Linked DNA regions of Homo sapiens: all the other regions are linked to region 1. The links are contacts of gene promoters, found by promoter capture Hi-C in blood cells and fetal thymus (Javierre and others, 2016). All regions are on one chromosome and are shown on one strand. Each heading gives the region's core, a stretch centred on a gene start or on the middle of the fragment in contact. The rest is flanking DNA. Distances are from core to core; before and after follow the strand shown. Region 1 holds the start of DELE1 (DAP3 binding cell death enhancer 1). Region 2 overlaps ARAP3 (ArfGAP with RhoGAP domain, ankyrin repeat and PH domain 3). Region 3 holds the start of LOC124901092 (a long non-coding RNA gene). Region 4 has its middle 60 kb from the start of ARAP3.

Region 1 (3,506 bases), core at 417-2,916:
GGGACTCCAAAGCCCACTACTAATCCACTGGACCGTGTTCCTGGAGGCCACAAATGCTCTTTCCTCAGCTGTCTTCTCAGATCCTAGAACGGGCTGATATATGGCTCAAAAGTTCTTTAACGGCCAGGCACGGTGGCTCAAGCCTGTAATCCCAGCACTTTGGAAGGCCAAGGCAGGAGGATCACCTGAGGTCCAGGAGTTCGAGACCAACCTGGCCAACATGGTGAAACCCTGTCTCTACTAAAAATACAAAAATTAGCAGGATGTGGTAGCAGGCGCCTGTAATCTCAGCTACTTGGGAGGCTGAGGCAAGAGAATCGCTTGAACCTGGGAGGCAGAGGTTGCAGTGAGCCGAGATCACACCATTGCACTCCAGCCTGGGCGACAGAGAATCCGTCTCAAAAGAAAAAAAAAAGTTGTCTAACATATTAATACAACTTTCAAGCCACATGCCTCGGTCTAAAAGTAGGTGCCCCCAGTACACTTTTACCCCAGGTAGCAACTTCCACTCACCTTAAAGTCACATACCTGGAGGAAGGGGATAGGGAGGAAATCTAAACATCTTATACTTGAATGTAAGCTCCGTTATTTCACGGATTCAAATGTGGTGAAAGGAACTATTTTTTTTTCCTTTTTTTTTTGAGATGGAGTCTCACTCTGTCGCCCAGGCGCGATCTCGGCTCACTGCAACCTCCCGTCTCCCGTGTTCAAGCAATTCTCCTGCCTCAGCCTCCAGAGTAGCTAGGATTACAGGCGCCCACCACCACGCGCAACTGATTTTTGTATTTTTAGTAGAGACAGGGTTTCACCATGTTGGCCAGGCTGGTCTCAAACTCCTGACCTCAGGTGATCCGCCCGCCTCGGCCTCCCAGAGTGCTGGGATTACAGGCGTGAGCCACCGGGACCAGACGGAACTATTCTTTTCCACAAAAGAACAAACACATACATAACTTTTGCCACGTCTGAAGACGAGGGTTCTAATAGGGCGCGGGTGGTGTCTCAGGTATTTTGAAAGGAGCTACCCAAGAATCTCAGCTTGTCAGGCCAGTCATTCCATTTGACCCTATCTGGCGCGTATTGGGGCCCCGACAAGGTAAGGGGTTGGCATGAAGCTGCACAGTGAGATAAAGCTGGACCGGAGCTAGAACCCAGAATCAAAGCCTTGCCCTGTGCGGTTTCTCATCGCCTACGCAGTCGGGCCCTGGCCTGGCATCTCCAGGCAGGTGGCCTTGGACGGAAGCCCGGCCTACTGGCTTCATTTGTGGGACCCCGGGGGTCCTCTCCTCCGCCCATGGAGCCTGGTTACTCCCACTTCCTCAAGCCTAGGGCCTGGAGAAGCCTTTCCTGGTTCGCGGCCTCACGGTCTGCAAGGTCCTCTTACTTCCCTGAAGCCGCTCCAGCCCCACTTCCCGAAGGTCCCGCTTCCGGGTGGCTCGCTTCGCCACCTGCGGTCCCCTGCCTCGGCTTGGGAACGCCAAGGACATCCCCCACGGAAGCCTGGGCCCACATCCCCATGCCCTTGCCGCACGTCACCGCCCCGCTGGCCCCGAATACGCCTCCGCCCTGCACTTCCTCTCTGCAGCGCCGTCTTTCCGGCCGGGCTCCCTTCTAATTGGCCAGCTCAGAGCTTCCTCGGGTACTCGGCCACTCGGGGCATCGCGGCGGCCTTTCTAGCCGCTGTCCCAAGGGTTGGTCTCGCGCTTTCGGCTGCGAGCTCTCTGTGGTGCTGGCAGCGACATGTGGCGCCTCCCGGGACTCCTGGGCCGAGGTAAGGGACGTCCAAGCAACCAGCGTCACTCTGGGCCGCAAAGACCGAACTGGAGTGGGGGCGGGCCCGAGGAAACAGCCGAAGCGATCGTGGGCCGGGTTAGAGCCAAGGAAGGCGGGGCTTGAAAGAGGGCGGGGAAGTCAGGGGCTGCTGGAATTTGAGATGTGGATGGGCCTAGCTAGAAGAGGGTGGAGTCCAAGAAGTTGGTAGGACTGTTGGGAGGGGGAGGAGTCCAATGGCAGGAGATGGTGGACTGAATGAATGAAAGAGGATTAGGGGCCAATGGAGTAGGCATAGCCAGTGAAGAGAGGAGAGGTTTAGAGTCAAAGAGCCCCAAACATTAGTGAGAGTATATGTATGAACGTTTGGTCATCTTAGAACAGTGGTTGGCATCCACAGGAGACCAGCAGAATCACATGGGCGCTTTTAAAAAACGTGGATGCTCTACCCTGAGAAATCTTAGTTTATTGGTTCTGGGGTACTACCCTAGAATCTGTAGTAGATAAAAGATTCCCATGTGTATCCATGTTTAAGAACCTCTGCTGAGGCAGATGACAGTGATTCCTGGGTTCTTGTTGAGGTGCCTGAGTTTTGGTTGTTCTGTACAGCTCTTCCCCGTACACTGGGACCTAGCCTCTGGAGGGTGACTCCTAAGTCCACCAGCCCAGATGGGCCTCAGACTACCTCCTCCACTTTGCTGGTTCCTGTGCCTAACCTCGACAGGTAAGATACTGCCATTTTACCACTCATTTCCTCCCCTAGTCACCCTTTTTTTTTATTTTTTTTTTTTTGTTGTTTTTTGAGATGGAGTCTCATTCTGTCGCCCAGGCTGGAGTGCAGTGGGGCAATCTCAGCTCACTGCAACCTCCGCCTCCCAGGTTCAAGCAGTTCTCTGCCTCAGCCTCCCGAGTAGCTGGGATTACAGGCACCCGTCACCACACCCTGCTAATTTTTATTTTATTTTATTTTTTTTGAGACAGAGTCTCGCTCTGTCGCCCAGGCTGGAGTGCAGTGGCGCGATCTTGGCTCACTGAAACCTCCGCCTCCTGGGTTCAAGCGATTCTGCTGCCTCAGCCTCCCAAGTAGCTGGGATTTCAGGCATGCACCATCACGCCTGGCTAATTTTTTTTGTATTTTTAGTAGAGACGGGGTTTCACCATGTTAGCCAGGATGGTCTTGATCTCCTGATCTCATGATCTGCCCGCCTCAGCCTCCCAAAGTGCTGGGATTACAGTGTGAGCCACTGTACCCAGCCAATTTTTATATTTTTAGTAGAGATGGGGTTTCACCATCTTGACCAGGCTGGTCTTGAACTCCTGACCTCGTGATCCACCCACCTCAGCCTCCCAAATTGTTGGGATTACAGGTGTGAGCCACCGCACCCAGTCCCTGGTCTCCCTTTGCCCCTACTTGATAGCCTCTTATTTCATCATCTAGGTCAGGTCCCCATGGCCCAGGCACGAGCGGGGGTCCAAGGTCCCATGGATGGAAGGATGCCTTCCAATGGATGTCTTCCCGTGTCTCCCCGAACACCCTATGGGATGCCATATCTTGGGTAAGGCTTCCCCAGCCTGGTCCTTGACCTTCAGTGTAGATGAGAATGATCCTTCATGGGTATACAGCCGAACCTGGAACAAGGGCTAGGGAATCACTGTGTCCATTTAACAAGTAACCCATGGTATTGGAGCATATTCAAGGAGATATTGCCACTTTCCACACCCCCGCCATGTATGTTTTC
Region 2 (3,506 bases), core at 299-2,798, 250 kb before region 1:
AAAATACAAAAAAAAATTAGCCAGGTGTGCTGGCGGGCGCCTGTAATTCCAGCTACTCGGGAGGCTGAGGCAAGATAATTGCTTGAACCTGGGAGGCGGAGGTTGCAGTGAGCAGAGATCGAGCCACTGTACTCCAGCCTGGGCAACAGAGCGAGACTCTGTCACAAAAAAAAAAAAATTTCCCCAGCCTATGATACAGCTAATGTTGAAAACTGCTACTGCAGCCTCTGTTTCCTACTTCACTGAGAAATTGAAGTAATCAGATAAGAACCCCCACAGACTCCCAGTGCCATGTTTACCCAATTTCACGCACATATTCTGCCTTCCTCCTGTGACTATAATAAACACTCGTGTCTAAAGCCAGACCCTCCTCTGTGCCCTTAATCCTATTCCTCTCACCTACACAATCACTTAGACATCCCTCACTCTCCTCTCCCCTACATAACTGTCCCTCCCTACCAGATCATTCCTATTCACCTACAAACCTATATAACATTGCATCCAATAAAAAACTCTTGTTGGACAGGTACGGTGGCTCACGCCTGTAATCCCAGCACTTTGGCAGGCGGATCACGAGGTCAAGAGGTCGAGACCATCCTGGCCAACATGGTGAAACCCCGTCTCTACTAAAAGTACAAAAATTAGCTGGGTGTGGTGAAGCGCACCTGTGGTCCCAGCTACTTGGGAGGCTGAGGCAGGAGAATCACTTGAACCCAGGAGGCAGAGGTTGCAATGAGCCGAGATCACACCACTGCACTCCAGCTTGGGTGACAGAGCAAGACTCCGTCTCAAAAACAACAAAAAAACTCTTTTCTTGACTCAGCTTCCTCTAGCAACAATAGTTCCAACTCTCTGCTCTTCTTTGCAGAAAAATTCCTCAAAAGACACTGTCTGTACTTTTCTATTCTCCCTTAAAACCCACTCTCATCGAGCTTTCACCCCATCACTCTGAGACTGTACTTGTCAAGATCCCCAGTGACCTCCAATTCCAAGGGTGAATTCTAAGTCCTATCATACTCAGCAGCAGACCCCTCAGCAGCGTAGGACACAGCTGGCCTCTCCCTTCTTCTTCTACATTTTCCTCACTTTGCTCCTATGACATCACATTCTCCTGGCCTTCTACTTTGCTATTTCTCTTCTGTCCGTTTTGCAGATTCTTCCGCTTCTCCCAAACCTCTAGATATGGGAGTGCACAAGGGCTTTGATCTTGGTCCTCTTCTCTATCTGCACTCACTCACAGCTCTATGCACCCATCTAAGTGCTGACAACTCTCAAGTTTAGGTCTCCAGCTCCGACCTCTCTCTAGACTCTAAGCTCGTCTACCCAGTGGTCTATTTTCACCTCTTCTTGGAGGCATAACTTACACCTCAAATTCAACACATCCAGAACTGCACTCCTAATCTACCCTCTCCTCCCAGCTGCCTGAACACAGTCTTCCCCATCTCAGACCGTGGCGGCTCCAGGAACTTTCAGGTGCTCAGGACAGTGCTATCCAGCAGAAGTTAATGCGAACCAAGTATGTAATTTTAAACTTTTCAGTAGCCACGTTTAAAAAAATTAAAAGAAACAGGTGAAATTAATTTTAATAATATATTTTATTTAACCCAATATATCCTAAACATTAACATTTTAGTATGTAATCAACATAAAAATTACTATTTTTTACTACATAAAAATTCTGTAATCAACATAAAAATATAAACATAAGATAATTTATGTTTATATTTGTTATATTCATCCAGTATTGCTTTTTCTCATATTAAGTCTTTGAAATCTAGCAGGTGTTTTACATTTATTGTGCATCTCAAAGGATACTAGCCGCATTTCATAGGCCCAGTAGTCACATGTGGCTAATGGCTACCATACTGGTCAGCACCAGCTCAGATGGAAGCCCTCAAAGTCATTCTTGACTGCTCTTTTTTTCTCACATCCCAAGTTAATCTGACAGTTTGCCTTCAAAATAAAGCCACTTCTCATCATCTCCACTACTATCACTACACTCTGAGGTCTCTCACCTACATTACTACAAAAACCTCCCCACTGGTCTCTCTGCTTCTCCTTTGGCCCCCTACAGACCACTCCCAACATAGCAACCAGGGGGATCCCTTTATAAAGTCAAAACCCCTCAATGGCTTCCCATTTCACTTAGAGTAAAAGCCAAAGTCCCTTATCTGGCCCCTTGTTTTTGTTTTTTTGGTTTTGTTTTGTTTTTTGTTTTTGTTTTTTTTGTTTTTGTTTTTGTTTTGAGACAGGGTCTCACTCGGTTGTCCAGGATGGAGGGCAGTGGCATGATCTTGACTTGCTGCAACCTCCGCCTCCCGGGTTCAAGTGATTCTCCTGCCTCAGCCTCCCTAGTAGCTGGGACTACAGGTGTGCGCCACCACCCCCAGCTATTTTTTTTTTTTTTTGAGACGGAGTCCTGCTTTGTTGCCCAGGCTGGAGTGCAGCGGCACAACCTTTGCTCACTGCAAGCTCCGCCTCCCGGGTTCACGCCATTCTCTGCCTCAGCCTCCTGAGTAGCTGGGACTACAGGCGCCCACCACCACGCCCGGCTATATTTTTTTTGTATTTTTAGTAGACACGAGGTTTCACCATGTTGACTAGGCTGCTCTCAAACTCCTGAACTCAGGTGGTCCGCCAACCTTGGCCTCCCAAAGTGCTGGGATTACAGGCATGAGCCACTGTGCCTGACCCTTATCTGGCCTCTTTTACCTCTCTGACTTCATCTCCTGCCATTCCTCCCACCGTGGCTCACCTGCCCCAGCCAAGATGGCCTGGCCTCCTCACTGCTCCTGGATCCCTTTGGGCACACACCCGCCTTGAGGCCTCTGTTCCAATCACTTGCCCTACCGGGGCACTCTTCCCCAGTTATCTTCATGGCTAACTCCTTCACCTCCTTCAAGTTTTTGATCAAATGTCATCTTCTTAACGCTCCGCTAACTGTAAATGAAAAATTGCAGTCCACCCATTTTGCCCCCAAGCCCTCTTTTTTTTTTTCTTAGTCACTGCTACCTCCACCTCTCCGGTTCAAGCAATTCTCCTTCCTCAGCCTCCTAACTAGCTGGGATTATAGGCGTCCACCACCGCACCTGGCTAATTTTTGTATTTTTAGTAGAGACGGAGTTTCATCCTGTTGGCCAGGCTGGTCTCAAACTCCTGACCTCAGGTGATCCGTCTGCCTCAGCCTCCCAAAGTGCTGGGATTACAGGTGTGAGCCACCATGCCCGGCCAACCCCCCAGCCCTCTTACTCTGCTCTATTTTTTCCATGGCACTTAATACCTTTTAACGTTCTATAGTATTTAATGTATTATGTTTATTGTTAATAGACTATCTCCCCACAAGGGCAGGGATTTCTGTGTACGCTGATCTATCCCAAGCATCTACATCCGGTGCATGATAGTTGCTCAATAAATATTTGTTGAATGAAAAAATGAAAAGCACTTCTCCTGGTTGGGCACAGTGGCTCATGCCTGTAATCCCAGCACTTTGGGAGGCCAAGGAGGTA
Region 3 (3,506 bases), core at 578-3,077, 200 kb before region 1:
TATTTATTATTCACTTTTAACATGACCTCATTCGTTAATAAGGGTTCAGATAGGAATGTTGGATGTATGCATGCATGAGTGCAGGAATCAGTGGATGAGTGGAAAGACTAATAAATGCATGAATGAGGGAATGTATGAAAGAATGAATAATAATACTTAACATTTTATACATGCTTTCCATGTGCCAGGAATTGTTCTAAGTGTTTTTTATTTATTAAATCATTAAATCCTCACACAACCCTAGGAGGTAGGATTTATTATTATATGCATTTTACAAATGGAAAAAGTAAGGCATGCAAAGTTAAGTAATGCACACAGTGCCACACAGCTAGGAGGTGGAGTGCGGGGACAAGGGTTTGAACAGAGGCAGTTTGGCTCCAGAGGATGTTACAGCCTGGGTCCCAGGAACAAATGCTAGGAGTTGGGCAGTTCCGCATTTATCCAGATAACTCCTCTCTCACTCCGTAATGGTTTCTTGGCTAAGCCTCCTCCAGAAACGTGCTGCTTCCTTGGAGCAGACCTGGGTCCAGGCAGCCAGAGTCTGTCTGGGAACTGCCCTGGCTGGTGGGGACACACAATACCTGCAGCCCTCGCAGGGCAGCTGCAATGTGGTGAGGATGTGTTTCTCCTCCCCAGAAAAGGCTGGGTGAGAAAGTAGGGCCTTTAGCTTGCACAGTGGAGAGCATCCTTGCTCTGGGAGGGCCTCTCTGATCACTGAAAAAGAAGCTTGAAGTTTGCCTTGCAGTTGATTGTATTAGCATTTCAGAAGAATCCCCCTTCCTGGGAAGTGTATTAACGATTCACTCTGGCTGGTCTCTCACCCGGGGCAGCCTCTTCGTGAAGTGCCACAGATTTCCTAGAAATCCTCTGAGACATTTTGACATTCTGATTGTCACTGCCAATGTGGGCTGCGAAGGAATTAATTGACACAGATGAAACCCTCAATTTCCAAGGGCTGTGTAATAAAATAAAGGTTATTGTATGATTGCAGATTCCACCACTAATGAAAAAGGGCTAAAGACCATAATGACCATATGGCATGCTTAGTGAGTGGGGACTCACTTTGATTTTCACAGGCAACCATTCTGAACTTTAGGGAATATTAAGGGTGATAGTTATTATTTATCGAGAATTTATGATATGTTAGGTACTTTACTAAATGATCTATCTATATATTATGTATTCCAACTCTATGAATGAGATGTTATTTTCATCTCCATTTTACGGGTGAATAAACTGAGGCAGGGAGAGGTACAGTAAACATGGCTAGTAAGTTGGAGAGTAGAAATAGACAACCTTATGGCTGAAAGATATTCTATTTTCTTGAGGATGAAGGATGATTGAAATACCTGGGCAGGCAGGGTTAAGATATGGCTAAGCATAAGGAATTCTGGCTGGTAGAGTATTATAAGTGTCTGTACACACTTTCTAGACACTGAGAGAACACCACTGCCTTTTCTCTGAGACCACAGGAATCCCATCCATCCATCTACCCATTCATCCAAACAAAAGAGATTCACCCATTCATCATCCACCCACCCATAGATCCATTAATCTGCCCATCAATCCACTCATCAATTTATCTATCGTCCACCCATCCATTCATGCATCCATTCAGTTAGTCATATATTCATGTATTCACTTATTTATTCAACTCAGGGATGTCTCTGACTACCCCTCCCCAGCTTCTGTCATGGAGGTAGGTGCCCCCCTTTCCTATAAGTGCCTGCTATGACAGATGTAGCAGGTGGAGGAAAAGCAGCAGAAGAACAAGGTGCTGGGAGATACAGTACCACCTCCATAATTTGTAAAGAGTTCCTTTAACTTTCTCATCCCCAGTCTCCATATATGTAAAATGGGAATAATATTTGCAGGCTGTTGTGAATTTAAAGCAAGCAAATGTGTGATATGTTTTGGAAATATGAAAGTTCTGCATAAATTTATGTCTGTATCATCATTATCATCACTAGTGCAGTATGTACTCAAATCTATGACTCTCTTAAGTTTGAGAAGTCAGCATCTGTAAAATGAACCATTTCTGATTTTGTTTTAAAGAAATTCTTTAAAATTTATAAACATGAAATTCAGTAAAATAAAATTACTTTAAATCATGCAATTGTGCAGTTTTATAATAATCAGATCTATTTATTCCACATTCTCTTGAGGCTACAGGAAGTTTTGGAGATTAGGAGTTGGAAAGGGACTTGGTAAAAAGGGATACTTGATCATGAAACATCAGTCCTGTAATTCCTGGCTTAAGGGATAGCGCTCTCCAGAATAATATTACATATCAGGAAGACTGTTTAAGGCTTATTTCTTGTTGGTTATAAGAATAGGTGAGGGAAGGCCGGGCGCAGTGGCTCAGGCCTGTAATCCCAGCACTTTGGGAGGCCGAGGTGGGTGGATCACAAGGTCAGGAGATCGAGACCATCCTGGAGAACACGGTGAAAGCCCGTCTCTACTAAAAATACAAAAAAATTAGCTGGGTGTGGTGGCAGGCGCCTGTAGTCCCAGCTACTCGGGAGGCTGAGGCAGGAGAATGGCGTGAACCCAGACGGCAGAGCTTGCAGTGAGCAGACATTGCGCCACTGCACTCCAGCCTGGGTGACAGAGCGAGACTCCATCTCAAAAAAAAAAAAAAAAAAGGAATAGGTGAGGGAAGACTGTAAGGAAATATGTGCCTGAAAATCCAGGAAAAGATGAATAATCAGGCTACAAGATGAGCAGGAACTGCTGTAAATATAGGCTGTGTATCAGTCAGTGTGGGTTACATTATGTTGCAGTAACAAACAGTCCCCAAATCCCTGAGGCCTATGACAAATGTTTATTTCTCCCCTATATTACATATCTGTCATGGGTCAGCTGCAGCTCTGCTCCCCTGCTTTCTTCACTCTGGAGCCCAGGCCAATAGAGGAGCACACTGATTCTTAAAGCTTTCCCTCATATTTTATTGGCCAAAGCAAATCGCATGGCAGGCCTCTCATCAATGGGAAGTATGTTCCACTTTCAGAAAGGGCACCCAAGGGAGGAACAGCAAATATTTTGACCAATAACACAACTTTCCATACACATTGTAACTGAACTAGGTTATTTGAACCTCGGAGTGGCTTAGAGGAAGGACCTTTGGAGGAAGAGGTGGTAGCTCAAGTAATTTAGCTTCTCTCTGTGTCTGCCTCTTCTCCTCTCACCACCCATTTTCTATGTATTGTGGCTTTTGCTTTTGTGTCCCTCTTTTTTTTTTTTTTTTTTTTTTTCTGAGGTGAAGTCTTACTCTGTTGTCCAGGCTGGGGTGCAGTGGTGTGATCTTAGCTCACTGCAATCTCTGCCTCCTGTGCTCAAATTCTCCTCCCTCCTCACCCTCCTGAGTAGCTGGGACTACAGGAATGTGCCATCACACCCAACTAATTTCTTTCTTTTTTTTTTGGAGACTAGAGACTTACTCTGTCACCTAGGCTGGAGTGCAATGGCGTGATCTCGGCTCACTGCAACGTCTGCCTTCCATGTTC
Region 4 (3,506 bases), core at 268-2,767, 180 kb before region 1:
GGTCTCCTGGAGATATTAGGTTAGGCCAGATGGAGGGGCCTTGAACGCCAAGGTAAGGCCTTTGGATTGACTGTTCCATGGGTAGAGGTTTCGGAAAGTTCACATGTCATCTATGCTCCTGAGTTCGCTTGTGAACCAGGACTCTGGCTTGCTGAGTCACTTCCCTCAGTCACTCTCTGAGGGCCAAATGTGCACAGTCCATTGTAAGGAGAGCATTTAAATTAGCCATTCAGTGGGTGGCCCCTCCTCAAAGGTCAGTGGCCTATCTGGCCACCACAGCTGGCGGCCACAAAAGACCTGCCGAGAATCCTGCCGAGAATCCAATCTAATGGAGTGGTAAAGGCTCAAGCCACTCTTCCTGGGAGTGGGAGGGTGAGTTGCAAGGTGATTTTGCTGCTGTCACAGTCTCCCTTTAGACACGGCCTGTCCTCGAGGGCAAAAATAGCAGCTTTAGAGGCAGGAGAGTTTTGTGACATCATCCCCAGGTTCAGCCAGCAAACCTCACTCCAGCCAGTAGATCTTGTTTGCCCCTCGGAGATTTATGCCAAGGTCCTAAGGGACAACTTTGGTGGCCCTGGGGCTCCTTCCAGCCCCCTGGCCCCAGTTCTGGACCCTGCCTATGAACCAGAGTCCCCAGCTCCACCCCACTGTTTACACACCAGGTGAAGAGGAGCACACTCACTAGTGCACTGTGGCTGGACTCGTGTCTACCTCCATCTCTCCAGGGCTGAGTGCTATAGGCCTGCAGGGCCCGCAGGGCCTGCAGCCTCTCTGGGCTAGGAGCACACAGGCTGAGCTGAAGATGCTGAGGATGGCACCTAGCCTGGAGGCTGAACTGAGGGGAAGACATTCTGCAGTCTCTGGGAGGTGGGAGGGAGGGAGGGTGGTTTGCAGAGAGAATAAAGGAGTTTATGCACAACTCTGGGTGTATGTGTGTATTTGCATGTGTGTGTGCCTGTCCTGCAGCAGAAGATGGCAGGCAGGAATGGGGACTCCACAGCCTCCACTGATTAGAAAGGTTTTGAAATTGATAAATTACTTTGTATTGGGGCAAAATGATTTGACCAGGTTTCAAATGTCTCAGAGAAGGGAAGCTTCTCTTGGGCCAAGTATTGATTGCATTTAATAGAGCTGGGACTTTCTCACTTAAAAACAACAAAATAAACATCTAAGAGAAGGCACCAAAACACATATGCTCTCTCTCTCTCTCTCTGTCTTTCCTTCCTTCTTTCCCTTCTCTCTAAGGACAGGTAGGGATCCAGAGACCCACTCAAGTCTGGGGTGGGGGCAGGGGCAGTGCCGATGTCAGAGCCATGGAGTTCCTTTGGGGCAGATTGATGGTGGGGGCTCAGGAGAACAGGGAGCCTTGGGTTGGTCCCATTCTTCACAGATTGATTTTGCCAAACAGCAACTGTCAGAGCCTTTGATAAATCACTAACCCAGTGATGAATGCCCTGAGGCTGGGTGGGGTGGGGGGAAGGATGCTGGTCTGGGAGGCAGCCCAGGGAGGGAGAGGGGCAAGGATGGAGGGCTGAGGGCAGCAGGAGCCAGCTAAGGAAAAGTGAGTCCTAGAAATCCTGTGAGATACCCCTGGCTAGCTTACCCTGGACTCATCTCTCAACAGGACTTGACCATAATTATTGACTCAACAGTGCTTCAAATTTCATTTTCAGTCTGTCTCTTGTCTGTCTCTTGCTGTCTGTCTCGCTGTCTGCCTCTTTATCTGGCTTCCAAATGGACTCTGACGGTTTCCTCCCAAGAGATGATTCCTTTGGACCTCTTGGAAAGTGGAAAAGAATGTGGGGAAGGCTGGAAGCAAGTAGGGCCTTGGCAGTGGGAAGTGGGAGGGGAGGGGCGAGGTGACCTCCTGGAATGGAGGGATGAGGCCCAGCAGGGACCTGGACCAGCGGGGCGAGGGAGGGGCTGAGAGAAGGCAGATGCAAGCTTGCAGAGCAGACCTTGCCAGAAAGAAGCCAGTTTTTAGGAAGTCTTATTCTTTATGGAAGGAAAAGTTATGCCATGGGATTCTCTTATCCATCGAAGTAGTGAGAACAGAGACCTGCCCCAACTGAGCTCCCTGAGGAATAAGGGCAGAGGGGGAGAGGGACCAACCCAGAATCACAGAACTGATCTCTCCTCATGGCCAGAGCCTGCCTTGGAGGCAGCCCAGTTCATAGACCACAAGTTTGAGTCATCCCTGAGTGACCTTGCACGTGTGACTTAGCCTCACTCACCATCTGGTTCCTCATCTATAAAATGGATGTTAGAATAGAGTTACATGAAGTTTATATTAATTAAGATCGTGTGTATAAAGTGCTGAGCAGAGGGCCTGGCCCATAGCAAGCACTCAGTAAATATTAGCTGGGAACATTAATGTTCTCCCTGGTAGCAGCATGGCAGATTCTGAAGTCACAAAAACTCCTCGCTCATCCTGAGAGTAGAGAACTCTACCCAAGTTACTGATCTACAGGCCAAGCCACGTCGATCTTCTGTCCCCACTGTCAGTGCTTATGCACCCTGGGCAGAGGCCTACACTGCCTTTTCGGTAAAGGCAGCTGGCCCCTAGCCCTCCGGATGCCTGCTGGCCGCCGGCAGGTGTCTGCTGGCCCCGCGGTGCCTGCAAACGTGAGTGGGACTTGGTGCTGCTTTACCCATTGCACACAAGGCCGCTCCCAGGCTCCCTCAGCCCTTGGCCCTGTCCATGGTGCTAACCCACATCCCAGCCCAAGCGGAATTTCTGACTTCAACCCCTCTTGCCCCCCAACTTTAACATCTCTGAAGATCCCCTCCATCACCAGGAATGAATTCTGAGCTCACGTTCTGGAATGCTGCCAGGAAGAAGGAAGTGGTGTTAGTATAAAGAATCACACAAAAGGCCGCAGGTAATTATGTCTCTTTTAAGCCGCTAACAGGATTGGCCATTTGATAAATGGGAGGATTTGAGGCTGTTTTGTCACTGACAAGCTGTTGTAAGATCATATTGGAAGTTGAAGACAGTTTATCTTCATGTGTGTGGTGGAGAGAGGGGAATTCTCCGTGGATTTTACACCCTCTTTAAATTAATGTGATTTCCTAGGCTGGTCCTGTGCACGGGAGTGAGTGATCTTTATGACTCACCCCCTGATTAGATTACCTGGCTCAGTAGCCACCTCCAGCCCCTCTGAGTGCCCTCACCCTCCCAGGCCCCTCCCTGCTCTCATTCCTCCAGCTCCCCTCTGACATCCCCACTCCCTCCTCTAGCCCTACTCTCAGGTCCAGCTGCTGAGCGAGCCCACAGTTCAATTACTGCTATCTAGCCTGAGAGACAAGGAGATCTAGTTTCTTCAGTTCCTCTGAAGGGAGCAGAAGAGAGGGAGGTAGGATGGGAAGAAGAGGGAGGTAATGGGAGAGGGAGGGACGGAAGCAGTGGAGGAGAGAAGAAATGAGACAAAGAGGGAGTTGAAACAGAAACAGAGAGCCAAGCTGAGCCAAAGAAAGGAAAGAAAAGAGATAAAAACAGTAGCAAA

Evidence for each region. The method cuts DNA at HindIII sites, captures the fragments that hold promoters and counts their contacts. A CHiCAGO score of 5 or more calls a contact.
Region 2: a fragment that was not itself captured here is called in contact with the fragment with the promoter of DELE1 in region 1 in 8 of 17 cell types (erythroblasts, naive CD4 T cells, total CD8 T cells and 5 more); the score reaches 6.8 in erythroblasts.
Region 3: a contact is called between a fragment that was not itself captured here and the fragment with the promoter of DELE1 in region 1, in 1 of 17 cell types (endothelial precursors). The highest score is 6.5, in endothelial precursors.
Region 4: a contact is called between a fragment that was not itself captured here and the fragment with the promoter of DELE1 in region 1, in 1 of 17 cell types (endothelial precursors). The highest score is 6.5, in endothelial precursors.

The regions. Positions count from the first base shown.
Region 1 is chr5:141,922,205-141,925,710 of GRCh38, forward strand. It overlaps DELE1 (DAP3 binding cell death enhancer 1), which reads left to right and starts at 1,667. Exons shown (of 12, transcript NM_014773.5): 1 at 1,667-1,768; 2 at 2,377-2,491; 3 at 3,206-3,323. The coding sequence starts at 1,738. RefSeq lists an enhancer at 1,548-2,061. The HindIII fragment of the contact is 14,517 bases long and covers 1-3,506 here.
Region 2 is chr5:141,675,558-141,679,063 of GRCh38, forward strand. All of the region lies in intron 4 of ARAP3 (ArfGAP with RhoGAP domain, ankyrin repeat and PH domain 3), which reads right to left. Among named protein-coding and RNA genes, the nearest start is that of ARAP3, 4.9 kb to the right of the region's middle. The HindIII fragment of the contact is 9,046 bases long and covers 1-3,506 here.
Region 3 is chr5:141,718,396-141,721,901 of GRCh38, forward strand. It overlaps LOC124901092 (a long non-coding RNA gene), which reads right to left and starts at 2,413. Exons shown (of 2, transcript XR_007058973.1): 1 at 1-2,413. The HindIII fragment of the contact is 2,207 bases long and covers 725-2,931 here.
Region 4 is chr5:141,740,874-141,744,379 of GRCh38, forward strand. No RefSeq gene overlaps it. Among named protein-coding and RNA genes, the nearest start is that of ARAP3, 60 kb to the left of the region's middle. RefSeq lists a silencer at 2,529-2,823. The HindIII fragment of the contact is 850 bases long and covers 1,093-1,942 here.